Linked DNA regions of Homo sapiens: regions 1 and 3 are each linked to region 2. The links are contacts of gene promoters, found by promoter capture Hi-C in human tissues and cell types (Jung and others, 2019). All regions are on one chromosome and are shown on one strand. The core of a region is centred on a gene start or on the middle of the fragment in contact, and the rest is flanking DNA. Distances in the headings are between cores, read along the strand shown. Region 1 overlaps FZD6 (frizzled class receptor 6). Region 2 holds the start of CTHRC1 (collagen triple helix repeat containing 1). Region 3 overlaps SLC25A32 (solute carrier family 25 member 32).

Region 1 (4,646 bases), core at 217-2,716, 46 kb before region 2:
AAGATATATTTCATATGATATAAAGACATATTTCATATGCTATAAAGAGACAAGCCAGTACTTATCTGGAGCCTACCAATTAAGATAAATTCTTTTAAATATTTAGTCTTAAAAACAGAAATTATTTTAAAATTATGAATTGGCTAATTTTTTCCAAGTAAGTGCATTTTCATGTTCACCTGCTTTGTATTTAATATAAATTATTGTGTTGAGGCCCCATTAACAGCCACAAGTTTTTAGTCAACTTCAAAAATTTCTACTCAACTCTTATCTGTAATCCATTTAGATTTGTATCTCTTCCCATCAATCATGAATACATAAGGTAATATTTTATAGTTGGAAAGCATTGCTTAATATATTGAATCAATAAAAATGTTGATTTCATATATTTAATTTTTATAATCTTTACAGATTACAATACTGTGATGAGACTGTTCCTGTAACTTTTGATCCACACACAGAATTTCTTGGTCCTCAGAAGAAAACAGAACAAGTCCAAAGAGACATTGGATTTTGGTGTCCAAGGCATCTTAAGACTTCTGGGGGACAAGGATATAAGTTTCTGGGAATTGACCAGTGTGCGCCTCCATGCCCCAACATGTATTTTAAAAGTGATGAGCTAGAGTTTGCAAAAAGTTTTATTGGAACAGTTTCAATATTTTGTCTTTGTGCAACTCTGTTCACATTCCTTACTTTTTTAATTGATGTTAGAAGATTCAGATACCCAGAGAGACCAATTATATATTACTCTGTCTGTTACAGCATTGTATCTCTTATGTACTTCATTGGATTTTTGCTAGGCGATAGCACAGCCTGCAATAAGGCAGATGAGAAGCTAGAACTTGGTGACACTGTTGTCCTAGGCTCTCAAAATAAGGCTTGCACCGTTTTGTTCATGCTTTTGTATTTTTTCACAATGGCTGGCACTGTGTGGTGGGTGATTCTTACCATTACTTGGTTCTTAGCTGCAGGAAGAAAATGGAGTTGTGAAGCCATCGAGCAAAAAGCAGTGTGGTTTCATGCTGTTGCATGGGGAACACCAGGTTTCCTGACTGTTATGCTTCTTGCTATGAACAAAGTTGAAGGAGACAACATTAGTGGAGTTTGCTTTGTTGGCCTTTATGACCTGGATGCTTCTCGCTACTTTGTACTCTTGCCACTGTGCCTTTGTGTGTTTGTTGGGCTCTCTCTTCTTTTAGCTGGCATTATTTCCTTAAATCATGTTCGACAAGTCATACAACATGATGGCCGGAACCAAGAAAAACTAAAGAAATTTATGATTCGAATTGGAGTCTTCAGCGGCTTGTATCTTGTGCCATTAGTGACACTTCTCGGATGTTACGTCTATGAGCAAGTGAACAGGATTACCTGGGAGATAACTTGGGTCTCTGATCATTGTCGTCAGTACCATATCCCATGTCCTTATCAGGTAAAAGCTATCACTTGGATTATGTCTCTATTTACATTTAATGTAGAAAATGTTTCATGGAAATATACTTGTCATGGATGTAAAAGTTGATTTCAGGTGAGAAAATACAAGAGCCATAGGTAAGGATTTCCTATACATCAACTGAAACTGGGATGAATGTTTCATGACTTCCTTCCTCAAGCTTTAGCTTCAGTTGTATAGTAAAGCACTTCCTTTATTCTCTGAAAAATTAAATTGAGCTGCAAAGGCAGATTAATAGCAATAAAGAGCAGAGTCAGAAGAACAGACCTTGACATTGGGAGAAAAACAGAAGTCACTTTTGTCGCATTGGCAATTATTTTTAATTTTTTAGTTAGTAGTAAAAAATCTTATTTGGATATATTTAATTTGATCATATTATCTTATAGCTTTTTACATAGTATATACTTACAAAAACAGAATTTGCTTTTTGCCTGACTCATCTGTCATTTCTCAATTGAAAAAAACACAGTTGTAACAAAATATGCTTTATCTATTTCTGATTCTTATGATTAGTATAAGGGTGGTGTTTTTAAAATTAATAAAAGTAAATTTCTGAAAATATAAAATTTCTTAAAGCATTTTAGTTGAAGTTTTGTAAATAGAAATTTGGTTTTGTTTTAGTAGATTTTAGACATTATTCCTGACTCTGTGCGGTATTAACTGCATTGAACATGAGCACTGCCATCACAGTGTATCAAATTAAGCAATGGGAATGTCAAACTATTTCATATAATAGCTTATATTTCAGAAAGTTACTGCTTTATAACATTGTGGAATCTATTTTTTATGTTGGTATGTGGGGATACTAGTTTTACTTGCCTTATACGTTGTCCATAATCTATTATCCATAGTTTGTTTTTACTATATACTTAATAAGAGGCTGTGTCTTAAAGTGATCCTGCTATATTAATAATGACTCCTAGTTTCCTCAGTCTTTTTGGCAAGGTTGGGGAGAGGAAACTATTACATATTATTAAAAAGTTTAAGATCTATGGTTTTCAAGTTTAAGATCTGTAGTTATTATGTTTTATGTAAGAAACTGTAAAATATAATAGAATTAGAAAATTATAATCTTCAAGTGGAGAAGGATATAATATTCCTGTAGTTGTAGAAATTATAAAAGATTGCTAAATTTGACTAAGTAAAAAAAAATTTTTTTAAAGATTCTGCGTGACAAAAAAAAACAAACAAACAATCCATAATCAATGTCAAAAGACTAACTGGGAAAGTTTATTTGCATATGACATCATAGCTGAAAGGCTAATTTCTCTAATTTATAAAGAGTTGCTACAGATCAATAAGAAAAAAACCATCCATCTGATATAAAAATGAGAAAAGAGTAGGAAAAAGGTTCACAGGAAATAAAAATGAAAAAACTATTCTTAAACATGTGAAAAAGTTATAGTAAAATAAATGTAAAATTAAAATTAAATTATATTTCCATGTATGATACGGCAAACATCTTAAAGGTGTTCTAACCACTGTGTGGTGAAACAATAAATAGCAAAATACATATTTTCAGACTTTGCTATTAAGAGTTAGTTCAACCTTCTGTTGAAGCAATTTCGCGGTATGTACAGATGTATAATGTGTGTACACTGATACTGCCCTTCTGGGAATTTATAGACAGATTTGCTTACAAATATGAGAAATTAAATAATACCAAGATAGTCACTACAACATTATTTGCAAATGACAATAGATTGGAAGTAAGTATCTATTAACAGGGATAGTAGAATAAGTTATGGTTCACTCACACAATGCAACAGCCTTTACAAAGAATAAAGAGCTCTGGCCGGGTGCGGTGGCTTACGCCTGTAATCCTAGCATTTTGGGAGGCTGAGGAGGGCGGATTGCCTGAGCTCAAGAGTTCAAGACCAGCCTGGGCAACATGGTAAAACCCTGTCTCTACTAAAATACAAAAAAATTAGCCAGGCATGGTGGCGTACACTTGTAGTCCCAGCTACTTGGGAGGCTGAGGCGGGAGAATTGCTTGAACGCGGGAGGCGGAGGTTGTAGTGAGCTGAGATCACGCCACTGCACTCCAGCCTGGGTGACAGAGTGAGACTCCATCTCAAAAAATAAAAATAAAATAAAAAATAAAAGAAATAAAGAGCTCTATTTGTATTGATACAGAATGGTCTCCAAGAAATATTAGTAAGTAAAAAAGGCAAGAAATGCAGAGTATGTAATATCGTGACCCTTGTGCAATGTTTAAGGTTAGAATTTCAAAGTTTATGCCTGAATAAAAAGTATAATTTCAATTCTTAGGAAATTTTCGCATTTTACTGATACTTAATTTACTTTAACCAAGTTTTTATAATATAAATATTAATAACGTATAAAAGCTGTAAAATATTTGTTATGATGAGTTTAAATGTATTTTTGTGGTAGATTATAGTGGGGGAAAATAGGTACATATTTAGAGGCAAATATTCTGGCAATTATAAGAGGCTACTGTATCTATCGAGAAAAAAATGCGAGGAAATCATGCCAAGATTTAGGAGATTATTCTTAAATATATTTCAGTATTTTCCCCTTTCTAGAGATTTGGTACATAAAGTTTCTTTGTTCAGCATTTAGATAAAAAATGTGTTGCACTTAGAGCATGCTTCATTATATTATTTCAAACCTTTTTAGTAAAACAGTTGAAGATTTATAACTTTTGTTCGTTTTATATTGACAATATAGACTTCTTTCCACTTTAAGTGCATCACTGAAAATATTATTATTCACTATTTTTTGTAGGCAAAAGCAAAAGCTCGACCAGAATTGGCTTTATTTATGATAAAATACCTGATGACATTAATTGTTGGCATCTCTGCTGTCTTCTGGGTTGGAAGCAAAAAGACATGCACAGAATGGGCTGGGTTTTTTAAACGAAATCGCAAGAGAGAGTAAGAAACTATTGAATTGTCTGACACAATTTTTAAATAAATAGATCAAAATACCAAGGAACTGTTCAAATCAATGTACTAGAGTTTCATTATATCAACTATTATTTCAATTTGATTTGCCAACTGAAGTTTGGAAATTTTTTTTATGAAAGAGACGTGCTTTATTTTTGCATTTGTTACAATAGTCTTTGACATATACTATTTATCATATAGTATATGTCTGTGACATATACTATTCTATTTGAAATATGAATGAATGATTTATGAAAGGCATATTTTCTTTTCATGATTTATAGTAT
Region 2 (4,125 bases), core at 363-2,862:
TAACATCCATCAGCTGGACTCACCAACTCCGGAAAACCTGCATGGGTCTATAGGGAGACCCCTGCTGAGCTGAATTTGACTTCACAGTATTACCATCCGTCACAACCTCGTGTTGTTATGGGTGTGGCAAGACTTCTGTTATGCCTGATTCCAGCCAGTTATATATAAAAGATCTCCTGCTCCAACCTGGCCCTACGTGGTGGGTAGCCTGGGCCCTGAGAATGTTTTCTTCTACAATGGACAGGCCAAAGGAGGACAGAGGGGGTTACAAAAAGATAATATCCATCAGAGGCAAAGAGTACTCAAAAGTGAACTTCTACCATTTCCACTGGATATTGATTAACTTCCCTGAGCCTCAGTTTCCTCATTCGTTTATGAGAGTAGCCCAGGAGGCATCTACCCCTCCCAACCCGCCAGGATTGCTGAGAGGACAGAGTACGCGTGCAAGGTTTTGCAATGTGCCAGAGCTTAGTAAGTGTTAGCACTTATGAAAACAGCGTTTATATATCATTTGGGTCATGGGACTCTTGGAAAACCTGATGATACCTATGGTTTCTTCCTGCCTCCGCCCCACCCCCACCTTCCAGCCTCCAAAAATGTCACCTCCAAAAAACAAATAAGGCAGGGCGCGGTGGCTCACGCCTGTAATCCCAGCACTTTGGGAGGCCGAGGCGGGCGGATCACAAGGTCAGGAGATCTAGACTATCCTGGCTAACACGGTGAAACCCCGTCTCTACTAAAAATATAAAAAATTAGCCGGGGCCGGGCGCGGTGGCTCACGCCTGTAATCCCAGCACTTTGGGAGGCCGAGGCGGGTGGATCACGAGGTCAGGAGATCGAGACCATCCTGGCTAACACGGTGAAACCCCGTCTCTACTAAAAATACAAAAAATTAGCCGGGCGTGATGGCGGGCGCCTGTAGTCCCAGCTACTCGGGAGGCTGAGGCAGGAGAATGGCGTGAACCCGGGAAGCGGAGCTTGCAGTGAGCCGAGATCGCGCCACTGCACTCCAGCCTGGGCGACAGAGCGAGACTCCGTCTCAAAAAAAAAAAAAAAAAAAAAAAAAAAAAAATTAGCCGGGCGTGGTGGCGGGTGCCTGCAGTCCCAGCTGCTCTGGAGGCTGAGGCAGGAGAATGGCGTGAACCCGGGAGGCGGAGCTTGCAGTGAGCCTAGATGGCGCCACTGCACTCCAGCCTGGGCGACAGAGCGAGACTCTGTCTCAAAAACAAACAAACAAACAAAAAACAAATAAGACTCGCCGACCCATGCCATAGATTGACGACCCTTGAAGGTGGCTCGTGTACCCAGGTTAAGCCACGTGTCTCTAAAATGTTCATTTAGGCGGCGCTGTGTTACCTGCGGGAATCCCCGACCTGCGGCTCCTGACCACGGGCCACCCCGCCCAGACCCTGCAGGCGGGCTCTCCACGAGGGTCTGCGCAGCCCCGCGGGGGTCCTGACAGGCCGAGCGACTGCAGTAGGAGGGGGCGGGCCCGGCTCTCGGTCCGCCCCCACGCCGGGCTCGGGGTGGGGGCTCGGGGCCTATTACGGGATGGAAGCTCCGGGTGTCGCGGGGGCGGGAGGAATTAAGGGAGGGAGAGAGGCGCGCGGGTGAAAGGCGCATTGATGCAGCCTGCGGCGGCCTCGGAGCGCGGCGGAGCCAGACGCTGACCACGTTCCTCTCCTCGGTCTCCTCCGCCTCCAGCTCCGCGCTGCCCGGCAGCCGGGAGCCATGCGACCCCAGGGCCCCGCCGCCTCCCCGCAGCGGCTCCGCGGCCTCCTGCTGCTCCTGCTGCTGCAGCTGCCCGCGCCGTCGAGCGCCTCTGAGATCCCCAAGGGGAAGCAAAAGGCGCAGCTCCGGCAGAGGGAGGTGGTGGACCTGGTGAGTCCGAGGGAGCCGAGCCGGGACCGCCGCGCTGGTGGAGGGGACCTGGCCGCGCGCCCCACGGGCAGGGCGTCAGTCTGGCTGTTGGGGGTGTCTGTCTGTACAGCTGTGTGTCGTGTGTCTTGCTGCGCCGGGGTGTCATGCTTTTTATTTACAGGTGAAGAAGGACCTGGTTATGCGTGCAGTGAGTCTTGGAACTCAGAGGGGAGACCAAAATGGGAGGCCATCGTGGAGCGGACATGCGATATGGGCCCGGTGGGTCTCCCCGAAGTACAGGGAGTCCCCCAATAATTTCTGGCCCCAGGGGGACCCCTTGGGAAGGGTGGGAGGGATAGGGCGGCAGTGAGAGTAGGATGAGGAGCTTGGGTACGTCCGAAGTGGACCTGGGAAAAACCCTGGCCTCGCTGATCACATGGACCTGGGCCTGGGCCAGGGCGGTGCAACGTGTCCTTTGTTGGGGCTGGTGGCCACGTCTGCCTGCGAGAGAGAATAACAACCCCCACAAAGCATCCGTCCAACTCTTTGTAACTTGAAGACTATGAGTCACGTTGGGTCATCTTCCTAGGGAGTATGGGCTGCAATTTACTTTGTTGGACAACCACAGCTGGGGCTAGGAATGGTTCAGAAGGTTTAAGGCCGGAAAGGGAAATGAAGGGGCCCGGCGCTAACCCTCTAAGGACCTGTTTTGCTTCTGTTTAAACCAAATGGGCAGTCTGTCATTACACACACCCTGGGTCTTCATATGTGGCCGCCAGGTAGGAGCATCACAGTCAAGCTACGGGAGAAAACAGTTTCCAGGAAACTGGAAATGAACGGCCCGAGTGCTTTCCAGGGGCTCATCTGTGGGAAGGTATGTTTGCTTAAAATCCTTCCCTCTAAAAATCAACAAACCCAGTGGAGGGCGGAGAGGTTCTCTGGCCTGTGGTATGAGGGAGCCTTTCAGAGCTACCGTAGTCCTTGGCATATTATAAACTTCAGTCTCACTTGCAGACAAACATGATTTACAGGCATTGCAAGACATAAGTTGGGGCATTTTTTTTTAATTAAAAAGAAAGTTTTGAATTTGTTAAGCTGCCATTTTAAACTGAGCTAATATACCAAGTTCCCTGGCAGCTAGTTCTGTATTGGATTCAAAAGTGCTGGGAAAAAAATTCCCGCCATTTCACACAGCACTTTTTGGTGGTAGGCTGTGTAATTTTGATCCACAAAAGGGGACTATGTGTTCAGGCAACAGTTCTATTTTAAGTGTCCAAATTATTAAAACTGTGCCAAATGAGTATGGTTCATGTGTAGTTTGCATTTTATGAGTCTGTAGTTATGATACACAAAATACCCATTTTTCCTGTGAAGCTTGCTATTTTCCCCCCTTCAAGGATTTACAGTACCTGTGGTTTCCCACAACTCTAGCCAGACTTGGAAAAGATTTTGCAGTCAGGCTCAGGTGCATCCTGTAGGTTGGATTTGGTTTTGCTGACAGAAGAAGTCCACAGTCATTAAGGTTTCAACAGATTCTATAAAGCAACTTCTTTGTATAGGATCTTTCAAAGCGTTCCTTTCAAGCTTCCACAAAGCTCTGCCCCCTGGTGGCCAGTGAAAGAAACAGGGGCGTATAAAAGTGCGCTTCCCTTCACATCTTTTTTTTTTCATTCCACAGACATTTATTGAGAGTACTAAGCATATGTTGGGTTAGCATTTTAAAGTAGAAGACTGATGTAACACCTGCGGAATCGAGTCAAGTAAAGTTATATAGTCTTTGAAATGTATCTTTTAGATGAAAAGGTGAATAAAAATTCCCAATATGGCACAATGGACATGTTGGGCCAGATAATTCTTGTGGGGACTTGTCCTGTCCGTTGTCGCGTGTTTAGCAGCATCGTTTGTACATACTAGATGCCAGTAGCAATCCCCTCTCCCAAGTTGTGACAACCAAAAATGTCTCTAGACATAGCCAAGTGTCCCCTGGAGGACAAAATTGTCCCCAGTTGAGATCCACTGATATATAATGAAGTAAAATTTAGTCTGTGTAGCATCTTGCCCTGAGGGGAATAATAGTGAAAAAAATCAAAGAATATCAGAAGCAGTCTTATTCCCATTTGAAATGTATGTCTAAACATTGTATATATCTGCTTGTGAGAGTGAATTAAATTACTAAAATAAAAATAAAGTCTAAAACACACCAAACTATTTTGAAATATTTTGCACTTTTAAAATGCTTTACTTTTTGTGTCTTTGAATACTTTT
Region 3 (4,336 bases), core at 451-2,950, 34 kb after region 2:
ATAATCTGTGCATGTGACACATATATCTACCCCAACTTTATCACAATCTTCCTCAAATCCAAAGTAACTACTACCCCTCAAAAATTAAATAATTATGTAATACAGTAAGTCACATTTTACATCCTTTATAGAGTGACAATTTTATTAAAAAATTCATCTGGTTAAGTTTCTCATTTGCCAGGTTTCCTAAGTAGTCCTTTATTCAACAAATATTTGGTCCTGTTATGACTCAGGTTTTTGCTAGTGGCTATGTGTTCAAAAATGATTAAGTTAGGTTTTGACTAATCAACATTAAGAAATCAAGGTATTAAAGTAGGAGTTACAAAGACTTACGGCTCTTACTGTTTTTTCCTTCTGGATAGTATACATAAGTGAGGCGATTAAACAAGGCTACTAAATTGTATAATTTGAAAATTAAAATTATACTTTAAAGAAACACTATACCAAATCATTTTAAACCATTAGGGATTCATAACTTTTCTAAACTTTACCACTTTGTCATGAGTAAAATTCTTGAAATCTGCACAGAGTAATCATAATAATTTCTGCTAAGAAATTCCATATAACAGCCAGGCGTGGTGGCTCATGCCTGTAATCCCAGCACTTTGGGAGGCAGAGGCAGGTGGATCAAGAGGTCAAGAGATCGAGACAATTCTGGCCAACATGGTGAAACCCCATCTCTACTAAAAATACAAAAAATTAGCTGGGCGTGGTGGCACGTGTCTGTAGTCCCAGCTACTCAGGAGGCTGAGGCAGGATTATCGCTTGAAACCCGAAGGCAGAGGTTGCAGTGAGCCGAGATAGCGCCACCGCACTCCAGCCTGGGCGACAAGAGCGAAACTCCGCCTCAAAAAAAAAAACCAAAAACCGAAAAACAAACAAACAAAAAAAACAGAAATTCCATGTAACTGATTTAATACAGTTAGATGGGCATATTTAAACTCAGGTGTTCAAAGAAAAGAAATCAAAAACCAAAACTGAAAATTAAGTTTGGAAGGTGACATTTTTATATTTCACACATTGCCTTACCAGCTTCAGCAGCTGAGACAAGGTATTCTGTTGCCTCTAAACGTTCAGCTCTTCCTTCTGTTTTATATGACTTGATGGCATTGTAACTAAAAGAATTAAATGTGAGCAGTTTAATTTGAATAGGTGTCATTAAGTCTGTTTTAAAGTGTATGTAAGTCAACAGCAGTACCCCAAAAGCACAAGTCAATGCATAATGCAACCACAAAATGAGACCTTTTTCAAGAATGAATTTGCTGGAAGTGGTTTGCTGCAAGATTATACCACCCCTCCCTCTCAAATGAATACGGCTAGCAATACAAATGTAAAATATTTTAATCAGACACTCATCAATTAACTTCAAAAGACAAGGAAACTGGGAGGAGGGGAGAGTACAGTAGTGGTACACAGACTGGCCATAAAAGACAAAAGGGACCAAAGAAGGGGTACCTAACAAATATATACTGAGCACCTACGTTCAGGTACTATAGTTAGCTTTCTAATAGATGATAAAAAGATAAACAAGTGATGAATTTTTCTTAACAAATTAATAAGGACTATTAAGTGGCACACAAATAAATCATAATAAAAGACAACACAGACAATAGAAGAAATTCAGGAATTATGACTGAGATCACAGAAGGCTTTGTGTAGGAGGTAGTATTGAGCTGGGTATTGAGACAGGCACAGTTTCAACAAGGAAAAAGATGAGCATGGTGAAAAGTAATAAGGGTGGGTGGGAAGACAGGGAAAATTGGCCACACTTGAGTGGTAGATTGAGATTTGCATTTTATTTGGTAGAAAATATCCATTAAATGTTTCAGAGTAAGGGAGTCAAATCAGCCTATTTCCTTTAATGCCGATTTCTACTTTTCTCTTGGATGACGATGTCAAGTGAACACATTCTTTCTTTTTTTTTTTATTTCAGAGACAGAGTCTCACTCTATCACCCAGGCTGGAGTGCAGTGACACAATCATAGCTCACTGTAACCTTGAATTTCTAGGCTCAAGCAATCCTCCTGCCTCAGCCTCCTAATTAGCTAAGACTACAGGCATGCAGCATCATGATGCCAGACTAATTCTTTTTTAAATTTTTTGAAGAGATGGAGGTCTCACTATGTTGCCCAGGCTGGTCCTGAACTCCCAGACTCATGTGATCCTCCCACCTTGGCCTCCTAAAGTGCTGGGATTACAGGTGTGAGCCACTGCACCTGGCCCAAGAAATTCTTATCACAAAAATTTTATATGGCTTGTCCTTAGAAGCTGTCTTGAAGAATCTATACAACTCAAATTCATGATGTGTGTGTGTGTGTGTATATATATATATATACACACACACATATACATAAACATATCTATATATACATATATACATACATTCTATACACACATATATATGTCAAGGGGGGTGTGTGTGTATATAGTTTCACACACACCTCTCTAAAGAGAAGAAAAAGAGAAAAAATATTTAAACAATTTTAAGGCTGAATTTTATTTTGCTTTCACTTAAAAGATACTTTAAGATTGGTTTGGATACTGCCATAAACTTATGGGAGATCAAGCAAAATATATGACACAAAGAAGACAAAGGCAAATACACTAGATACTGATGTTTTCCTAAAAATGAAATCTGTTGAAGCAAAGAAAAGCTTCCTTATTCATGGTTTCAGTTTCACAGATCAGAGGCGTGCTCAGAGCAGCACATGCTCCTGCAATACAGTGCGATGATGGTTTGTGTCCATGTTCTTGTTCACTAAATAAGCTGAATGTGCCTGCCACAGGAACTTTCTATGGCTTCTTCAGGAGGCAGGTGAGAGCAGTTATTTTAAATGGTGATGATATCTGACTGGTGAAGGAGTAAGGAAAGCAATGAGCTGGGAAGATGATGGGGCAGGTCAAACAAGAAGAAACAATTTGCCTCAAACCCTTTAGGCCATGCACTGGCTTTTGCTTTCTGTTCCCAACAGCGATTTCCTGTGGTACCTATTCATATGAGGACCCTAAGGTCTATCCTCTCTGTTTTTCCACCTTCATCATAAACAAATGTATTTTTGTAAGCCATCTCAAATATCTTGGGAATCTGGTTGAGGATAAACAAGTAATTAATGATACTTCAGTATTTATAAAATTTTCTATTTGGGACACTCCGGAACTAATCTCTGATAAACGGAAAAAATAACTTAGTTATTTAAACAATCTTTCTTTATCAAAATTGAATACCAAAGAGAGCTGAAATCCACAGGATTCATTTTGGACAACAGCTGCAGGCTCTTCCAGTCTCTACATCACTTTCCAAAATCACTAATAAATAACAAACCGACTGATTCAACTTTTTCTAATCTAGTAATATTTTGACTCTAATTAGAAATGCTCACAAGTATGTATTGATATGGCCAAAACACCTAATAAAACACCGATGGGGCCCTACAATTTCATTGTGAATTATCTGGAGTTGGCTGTTTTTCAAATGGCTTTAACTAAAATAAAAAGCTCTCTTTAATATGTATTTAGCTTACAAAAGTAATCAGTTATACATTTCATCTTCCTGAATTCACCTCACAGAAATGGCTTCTCTAAAAGTATCATTCCACCTCATCTCTTTGCCTTTTTCCTATTAAGAATTTTCTTCCAGACCAAATAATGCCTCTGATAATAGCTAATAAGCCATTAGCTATTAATAGGCATCTGATAATCAAACTAATAAGCCATTTTGAATCAAACTAATCAAATAACTAATCAGCCATTTTGTTCTTCCTGATCCTTCCAATTCAGAGAAACTGATTAAATGACTCAACTTATCATTTTACATTTACATGTAAAAATCACCGAAAACAAAAATTCCTTTTTAATTTAATACTGTAAAATCTCCCAAATCTACTCACAAGAAAAAGTAGAGTCCCCAGGATAAACCTGCACCCCATATATTTGGGGTTACTCCTTGATAAAGTCCCCGTAGTCCATCAAGTTTCCAAATGGTAGTCAAGCAATGTAAAATTCCATTATATTTCGGTCTCAGTTCCAATCCATCACTCACTGCATCAAGGGATACACAAAGTCAGGTAAGAACAAAGTTCTAGCTCTGTATCACATATAAACACAGACACTGTACAATTGGTTATATAAAGGAGATAAACTTAGAAGAAAAACTTTTTTAGGTAGAAAAAATTATTTTCCAGGCTTTTATATATATATTACATATATATATAAATATATATATATATAAATATGTAAAATATACATTTTTGTGTCAGAGTCCCGCTCTATTGCCCCGGCTGGAGTGCAGTGGCACGATCTTGGCTCACTGCAATCTCCGCCTCCCAGGTTCAAGCAA

Evidence for each region. The method cuts DNA at HindIII sites, captures the fragments that hold promoters and counts their contacts. A contact is called where the count stands out against the background at its distance.
Region 1: a fragment that was not itself captured here is called in contact with the fragment with the promoter of CTHRC1 in region 2 in 1 of the 25 tissues and cell types used here (H1 embryonic stem cells).
Region 3: a contact is called between a fragment that was not itself captured here and the fragment with the promoter of CTHRC1 in region 2, in 1 of the 25 tissues and cell types used here (hippocampus).

Annotation. Positions count from the first base shown.
Region 1 is chr8:103,324,070-103,328,715 of GRCh38, forward strand. It overlaps FZD6 (frizzled class receptor 6), which reads left to right. Exons shown (of 7, transcript NM_003506.4): 4 at 412-1,429; 5 at 4,199-4,347. Among named protein-coding and RNA genes, the nearest start is that of SNORD173, 17 kb to the left of the region's middle. The HindIII fragment of the contact is 6,528 bases long and covers 1-4,646 here.
Region 2 is chr8:103,369,926-103,374,050 of GRCh38, forward strand. CTHRC1 (collagen triple helix repeat containing 1) reads left to right here and starts at 1,613. Exons shown (of 4, transcript NM_138455.4): 1 at 1,613-1,881. The coding sequence starts at 1,732. RefSeq lists enhancers at 1,273-2,067, 2,068-2,861, 3,359-3,488, 3,499-3,548 and a silencer at 1,497-1,616. The HindIII fragment of the contact is 7,309 bases long and covers 1-3,912 here.
Region 3 is chr8:103,403,747-103,408,082 of GRCh38, forward strand. It overlaps SLC25A32 (solute carrier family 25 member 32), which reads right to left. Exons shown (of 7, transcript NM_030780.5): 2 at 3,888-4,038; 3 at 1,030-1,115. Among named protein-coding and RNA genes, the nearest start is that of SLC25A32, 9.2 kb to the right of the region's middle. The HindIII fragment of the contact is 5,860 bases long and covers 1-4,336 here.